Regions from separate parts of the Homo sapiens genome. Here region 1 is linked to region 2. Evidence: promoter capture Hi-C in 16 types of primary human blood cells and fetal thymus (Javierre and others, 2016). All regions are on one chromosome and are shown on one strand. Each heading gives the region's core, a stretch centred on a gene start or on the middle of the fragment in contact. The rest is flanking DNA. Distances are from core to core; before and after follow the strand shown.

Region 1 (2,500 bases), core at 1-2,500, 100 kb after region 2:
CAGGGCCTGGCCAAGCCAGGCTGAAAGCCTGGGGCCTCACCTTGGCACCAGGCAGACCAGCTTCACCGGGACGACCAGCTTCACCAGGAGATCCTTTGGGGCCAGCAGGGCCAGGAGAACCACGTTCACCAGCGGGACCCTGGTTGGGGGAAGTCACAGGAACAGTTAGGGTCTCAAGTTTGTGGCTCTTTGCCACGGGCCAAAAGAGGAAGAAGATGCCCAGGGAGCGGCAGGGTCAGCCCCCCGGCCGCAAGGAGAGGTTACCTTGGGACCAGCAACACCATCTGCGCCAGGGAAACCACGGCTACCAGGTCCACCCTGCAGGAGGAGAGGAGGCCAGTGAACTCCGCGACACACAGGCACCAGCCAGGCAATGAGGGTGGAGCGGGAGGGGGCGGGCAGGGACACTTACACGCTCGCCAGGGGGTCCGGGCAGGCCAGTGGGTCCGGGTTCACCTCGAGCTCCTCGCTTTCCTTCCTCTCCAGCAGGGCCAGGGGGTCCTTGAACACCAACAGGGCCCTGGAGAGGGCCGAGAGGAGGAGGCGGCCTGTGGTGAGGGGCCATCCTGTGCCAGCCTCAGAGCCGGCTGAGGCTGGGCCTCCAGTGTCAGGGGTTCCTGGGGGTGTGGCAGGGACTCCCCCAGAAGACTAGGGGCTCCTCTTCCTTTCTGGATTTCCCTCAGGGGGCTCCTAGGGCAGGGTGGGCTGGGCTGCAAGAAGGATGGCGGGGAGACTTACAGGCTCTCCCTTAGCACCAGTGTCTCCTTTGCTGCCAGGAGCACCAGGTTCACCCTGCAAGGGGGGAGAAGAGGATGAGCTGAGAGTCGGGGGCGCTCAGTTGGCCTGCGTCTTCCTGCTCCCCAGATGAGAGCCGCACTGGAGCCAGTGCATGGGGTGGGCAGAAGGGAGAGTTTGGTACTCACGCTGTTACCCTTGGGACCAGGAGGGCCGCCGGGGCCCTGGGGTCCAGAGGGGCCTCGGGCACCAGGGAAGCCAGGAGCACCAGCAATACCAGGAGCACCCTGTGGGAGGCAGACAGCCAGGGCGTGAGCCTAGGAGCAGAGGGAAAGGGGCAGGCAGGCTGCAGGCGGCAGGAGTGGGACTGAAGCCTGGCAGGATACTTACATTGGCACCTTTAGCACCAGGCTGTCCATCAGCACCAGGGTTTCCCTGTGGCACAGAGAAAGGAGTGTCAGCAACAGGCAAGGACTCTGAGGTTAGAAAGTGGCAAAGGGGACACTGAGTCGGGGACACTTACAGCAGGGCCAGCAGCACCAGCAGGGCCAGGGGGGCCAGGCTCACCACGCACACCCTGGGGACCTTCAGAGCCTCGGGGCCCTTGGGGACCAGCTTCACCCTGAATCAGAAGAAAGGACATATCAGAAGCCACCCTGGGAAACCCAACCTTGCCTCTCGGGATGGCAGGAGGAAGGGGAGACAGGGACAGGAGAGCAATGATCAGGACTCTAAGATCAGAGACGGAGAACCCAGGACAAAGGTGTTAGTGAACGGGCTGCTCTCTTGCCACTCTGGGTCCCTTTGGTTTGGGGAACAGGGAGACATGAACCCCTTGGCCCATGAGGGTCATGCTTAGAGGAGAGTGGGGGGTCTCACCTTAGCACCAACAGCACCAGGGAAGCCAGGAGGACCAGCGGGGCCGGTGGGACCCTGTGAATGAAATGGAGATGTCAGCGAGAAGGAAGAGATGGCAGCTGCAAGTCACACCCTGGGACAGAGGAAGTCCTGGGGTTCAGACCAACATAACCTGCTCCCATTGTCAGCCCCAAGAGCAGATACTGAGACCCCTCCCCACTCCCAGGCCCTGAGGCCTACAGGCCACACTCACAGGGGGCCCGGCAGCACCAGTAGCACCATCATTTCCACGAGCACCCTGCAGGAGAGAGGGGAAGCCCCGTTAAGTCCACTGAGCACTGGCCAGTCCCTAGAGTTCCTGGGGAGCCCCTTCCAGAGCTCAGGGATCCCCCAAGGGGCCAGGAGTACTTACAGCAGGGCCAGGGGCTCCAGGGCGACCTCTCTCACCAGGCAGGCCACGGGGGCCCTGACAACCAAACCAAGAGAAGTCAGATGAGATGGGAGACAGCCTTGTTCCCCCAGGCCTCCATCTTGCCCCTGCCTCCTGCCCCATCCCTGCCCTCTGGAACTGGGCACACTCACCATCTGACCAGGAGCTCCATTTTCACCAGGGCTGCCAGGCTCACCCTGTAGATCAGAGAATAATGAGTGAGAAATTCATTCATGGTGGGACTCTGGGGATGTGGAGGACCATGATGTTCAGACAGCCTCTTACCTTAGGACCAGCAGGACCAGCATCTCCCTTGGCACCATCCAAACCACTGAAACCCTAAAGCAGGAAAGAGGTAGAAGGTAAGAACCTGTGGAGGGGGTGGAACAGCCTTGACATCCACCTAGATCTGAGAAAGAGCCTTGGGAGGTCATCACCGCCATCCCTTTGTTTCTGAGCTAGACTAAACCCCAACTG
Region 2 (4,711 bases), core at 1,073-3,572:
TGCCCTGTCTTCTTTTTCACCCTGTCCTCCCTACTAGGTGCTGAGTACTGCCTGATGCTAGAGATAGGGCAGTGAATAAGACAGATACAACCCCTGCCCTGCCCTCACGGAGCTTAAAGTCTAGCGGGAAAACAGATCAGTTGGCAAACAATTTTCACTCAATTGATAAGAGCTACCATCAGCTCCTTTTAACCCCTCCTTCCTGGATTTGTCCAGGTAGCTTTCAGCCAATCCCTTTCCTCGACGAGGTACCTGTTTCACATGTCCTGATCTTTCCTTGTCCTCTCTTAAGGGGTCTTGTGGATTCCCAGTCTGGATGACAGTGACCCAGACTGCGAATATTTGCTAAGACCAGGAGATCTAAGGAGCCCTTGAAGGGAGCCTATAACCCAGCTTGGCAGGATCAAGGAAGGCTTCCAGGAGGAAGGGATGACTAAGCAGCTGAGACCTGAAGAATGGGCAGGTGAAGGTGGGAAGAAAGAATGATCCAGACAGAAGAGATGCATTTGCAGTGGCTTAGAGATTAGAGGCTGGTTCAAGGCAGCAGACAGGTATGGCTGGGAGCTGCATGGGGGAATGTAGAGAGAGGAGTCTGGAGAATTAAGCAAAAGTCAATCGACTTGTGACAACTGGAAAGGCTCCAGTAAGAAGAAGAGAGCCATTGATGGCCTAGCACAGTGCCTCATACCTGTAATCCCTGCACTTTGGGAGGTTGAGGCGGGCAGATCACTTGAGGTCAGGAATTCAAGACCAGCCTGGCCAACATGGTGAAACCCTGTCTCTACTAAAATTACAAAAATTAGCCAGGCATGGTAGTACATGCCTGTTATCCCAGCTACTTGGAAAGCTGAGACAGGAGAATCGCTTGAACCTGGGAGGAGAAGTTTGCAGTGAGCCAAGGTTGTGCCACTGCACTCCAGCTTGGACGACAGAGGGAGACTCAATCTCAAAAAAAAAAAAAAAAAAAAAAAAAATAGCCCATTGAAAGGCTGTGAGCAAGGAAGTAATAAGGTCAGATTTGCAGTTGAGAATGATCCCTGAGTCTCGGTTTTCTTATCTATGAAATGAGGCTAAGAATAATAAAATAGAGAATTAAATGAGATAATGCCTGTAAACAGTGCCTGGCATATAGCTTATTATTCATCCAGCTAAGAGGCCCTTCCATATGTGAAGCTTTGCTCTGTGAGGTCTGTATTACAATCACATTCAGTTATAGCTAATTATTTACTTATGTAGCTATCTCTGAAACTTAGAAATGAAATCATCGAGGAAAAAGGCCATTTCTTGATCCTGTCTGTGTTCCCTGTTCCCAGCATAAAGCCTAACACGTATTAGGCTAATGTCACCGAGCAAAGAAAGCATCAAAGTGGCGGGTCGGGCCCTAAACCCACGATGGGAGATACCACATTCGGCCACAAGAGGGCGCGTCACATTTTCTCCAAGAGAAGCTGGGCCGCTGATGAAGGACGGGCTCCGGGCCTCCCAGAGACACTTCACCTCCTGGGATCTTGCTCTAAGGAAGCCCGGTGCGAAGGAGGTGGCTTTCTCAGGTGGTCGCGCTAGATGTCCAAGGCTTTATGTTCGGTCAGATGAGCTGTATAATAAAATGAAAGTGTTAACTGGCATGGACGATAGCTGCTGCCTCCACCGCCACTAGTAGTGATGGTTTTTACTCTGGATGTTTTTCAGTTGGAAAAGCAAACTCCGCCTTTTCCTGAGCCGCTTGGATCTTTGTGGAAGCGGGTGGGCTGCATATATACAGGACGGATTCGTATAGGCTTGCACCCTGGTTCCGAATTTTGCAAATATTCGCAGTCTGGGTCACTGTCATCCGGACTGGGAATCCCCAAGACCCGTTAAGGGAGGATAGGTAACGATCATGACAGGTGAAACAGGTACCTTTGAGTTGGAGAAAAGGGATTGGTTGAAAGCTACCTAGACAACTCTGGAAAGGAAGGGTTAAAAGGAGCCTGCAGGTGAAGGAGATGCGAGGGGGTAGCAAGGGAAAGGCAGGCGTGGAAGAGGAAGCGAAAGGGCTGGCGGGGCTCTGGGAAGGAAGGGGTTAACCCGGGCTTCGCCCCGCGGAGGAAAGGGAGGAGTGAACACAGGGGAGGTGGGAACTCGGCGCGGCCTCCCCAAAACAACAGGCCGCCCCGGCAAAGCGTGGGTTAAGGGGGCGGGCCCGGGGGAAGCCACGTGCCGGGGCGGAAGGCTATTGGTTCGCCCGGAGTTGTTTGTGAGTGGCCATTGGCGACGTCGAGGCGCCATGACGAGCCGATTGGCTGGGCGTTGGAATGCCCGCCAGGGCAAGGGTAGGGAGGAGGCGGCCGAACCGCGTCGCTGGGCCGAAAGGTGCGCGAGCGCTGCCCGCGCGGGGACCACAACCAAAGTCGCGGCCGCCGCAGCCATGCGCTGGGTGTGGGCGCTGCTGAAGAATGCGTCCCTGGCAGGGGCGCCCAAGTACATAGAGCACTTCAGCAAGTTCTCCCCGTCCCCGCTGTCCATGAAGCAGTTTCTGGACTTCGGTACGGAGTGGGCGGGAGGCGGCTGGCAGCGGAGGCCGGCGGGGCGCTGGGAGGGGCAGCCGGGGGCTAGGGGGACGGAGGAGAAGAAAGGCCCCGAGTGACAGAGAAGGGTTGTTTGGAAAGGTACAGGCAGGAAAGAGTTAATGGGGAAGCAGGAACCGGCCGGGGCCTCTCGACGGGGCTGCTGATGGGAATGGGGGGCATTTACAAGGACGGTCCCGAGGTTTCTTCGTGGGCCTCATGAAGGGTCTTGAAGAGTAAGGGGCAGTGAAGCTGTGATGTTACTGCAGGAAGGGAGTAGGGTGGTATCCAGACGCGAAAGGGTTAATGGGAGTTGTCCTCATGACTGGAGGAGTAGGGGCCCCTCCTCCCACCAGAGGAAACCGGGGGTCTGCTGGTGGGAGTGAGGAGGCAGGGTTTAGAGGTGCAGCCATCTGTAGAGAGACCTGGACTGGGCATGAAGGGTCAGACACCCCTGGGCAGAGGGTGAGATTAAGCCAGGGGCAGTTGGGGAAGGGGGCTCTTTCAGAAGATGCCATTGGGAGACAGTGCCCTGACTGGTAGACATCCACCCACAGAAGGAGCTGGACCCTAGCTGCCCCAGTGGGCAAGGACACTTGAAGATCAAATCTGTTCCGGCCTGGCAGCCTCTCCCCAGCTGGGCAGGGGCCCCAGGCACCGTGATGTGGAGTCAAGCCGCCTATACCTCCCTTGGCTGCCCCAGGGCTGCTAGGTCAGGATCGCCCACTACCAGCAACCTGGGGGTGGCCCTGGGGCAGGAGGGAGGCTGTGCCAACGTGGCAGCTGAAATGGGCATTGTGTGGGCCCTGTCTGTCTATGTGGTATTTCCATGGTGCCAGCTGGGGACTGGGGGTGGGGGGCAGTCTCTCAAGAGTTGAGTTGATAGTGCCTAGCTTGGGTTGCAGCTGCGTCAATGATGGGACGGGAACAGAGAGGTGGCAGCCGAGACATAAGGCACCTGTTCCTCAGGACTTGTCTGCCTGCACCCCTGCCCTGCCTGAGTCTTGAGCCTCCCCCATGTAGGAAAGCCTCCTGGGCCCACCCCTAGCCCCCAGCAGCTGTCCCCACAAACTGCACCCTAATTACAGAAACATCACAGCTGTGAGGGGCTCACAGTAGAGTTTGGTCAACTTGTAGTACTATGGGGGAAACTGAGACCTTCAAAAGGATGATGGCATGGCCTGGGTGACAGAGTTGGAAGCAGAGCCTGATGGACTGGAACCCAGGGCCCCTGACCCTGGGCCAAGGCCATATTCGGTCCCCCACCCTTTCCATCTTGACACCAGACAAGGACCGAGGCATTTGGACTCCTGTTCTCAGGCCCGTTTGCCCCATGGATGGGCATTAAGACACAGCAGCCCCACATGGGCATTCAGGCCAGGCTGGGTGAGGTGGGCTGGCCAGAGACAACACTGGGAGCCTGCAGTGGTGGTCTAGCCATAGCCCCCCTCAGCCAGAGCCCAGTCCTAGGTAGGGATGGGTTTCCCAGGCTCCTTTGTCCCCTGGAATCAGCCCCTCAAAGTGAGTGTGCTGGGAGGGAAGGAAAGAGAAGTGAGGTGACTGAGGCCAGAGGCAGCTCCAAATGGGCCCAGGAGTGGCCCTGTCCACTGTGGTTAAAGGCAAGCAGGGTTCAGCTGGGGATGAGGAGAGGATGACACCTCCTGAAGTGTTAGGCATGGGGTGTAGGTGTTTGAGCCCTGCAGGGGATGGGGAGCCTTGCTGTGTGCCCCGGGCAGGTCACTTGCTCTCTGAGCCCCCTGTTAATGAAGGGTTTAGCTGACCTGGCCGAGACATCCTTTGGCTTTCATAGTCTGTGGCTCTGTGGCTCACCCCTCTTTCTCCTGCCAGGATCCAGCAATGCCTGTGAGAAAACCTCCTTCACCTTCCTCAGGCAGGAGCTGCCTGTGCGCCTGGCCAACATCATGAAAGAGATCAACCTGCTTCCCGACCGAGTGCTGAGCACACCCTCCGTGCAGCTGGTGCAGAGCTGGTGAGACCCCTGGCTCAGTCCCTGCACCTCCCACTCCATCGCCAGTGTCCCTGGGCTCAGGGATGGCATCTCCAAGCTTTTAGCAGCTTTGAGGGTGGGGTGGGGACAGACAGGAGACACCAAAGCCCCAAGCGCTTGGAGTTGCCTAGGGTCACGTGGGAATCTGAGGCCAGAG

The links. Contacts are between HindIII fragments. The CHiCAGO score rates a contact against its expected background, and 5 or more counts as called.
Region 1: a fragment that was not itself captured here is called in contact with the fragment with the promoter of PDK2 in region 2 in 2 of 17 cell types (megakaryocytes and endothelial precursors); the score reaches 5.1 in megakaryocytes.

Annotation. Positions count from the first base shown.
Region 1 is chr17:50,194,309-50,196,808 of GRCh38, forward strand. COL1A1 (collagen type I alpha 1 chain) reads right to left here. Exons shown (of 51, transcript NM_000088.4): 12 at 2,309-2,362; 13 at 2,176-2,220; 14 at 2,006-2,059; 15 at 1,847-1,891; 16 at 1,615-1,668; 17 at 1,259-1,357; 18 at 1,126-1,170; 19 at 924-1,022; 20 at 739-792; 21 at 413-520; 22 at 265-318; 23 at 41-139. Among named protein-coding and RNA genes, the nearest start is that of COL1A1, 6.1 kb to the right of the region's middle. RefSeq lists an enhancer at 2,033-2,500. The HindIII fragment of the contact is 9,239 bases long and covers 1-2,500 here.
Region 2 is chr17:50,093,029-50,097,739 of GRCh38, forward strand. It overlaps PDK2 (pyruvate dehydrogenase kinase 2), which reads left to right and starts at 2,323. Exons shown (of 11, transcript NM_002611.5): 1 at 2,323-2,525; 2 at 4,395-4,536. The coding sequence starts at 2,408. It overlaps LOC124904024 (a long non-coding RNA gene), which reads left to right. Exons shown (of 2, transcript XR_007065837.1): 1 at 1-551; 2 at 1,314-1,625. RefSeq lists enhancers at 1,482-1,691, 2,723-3,238, 3,239-3,754 and a silencer at 2,072-2,191. The HindIII fragment of the contact is 3,439 bases long and covers 1,172-4,610 here.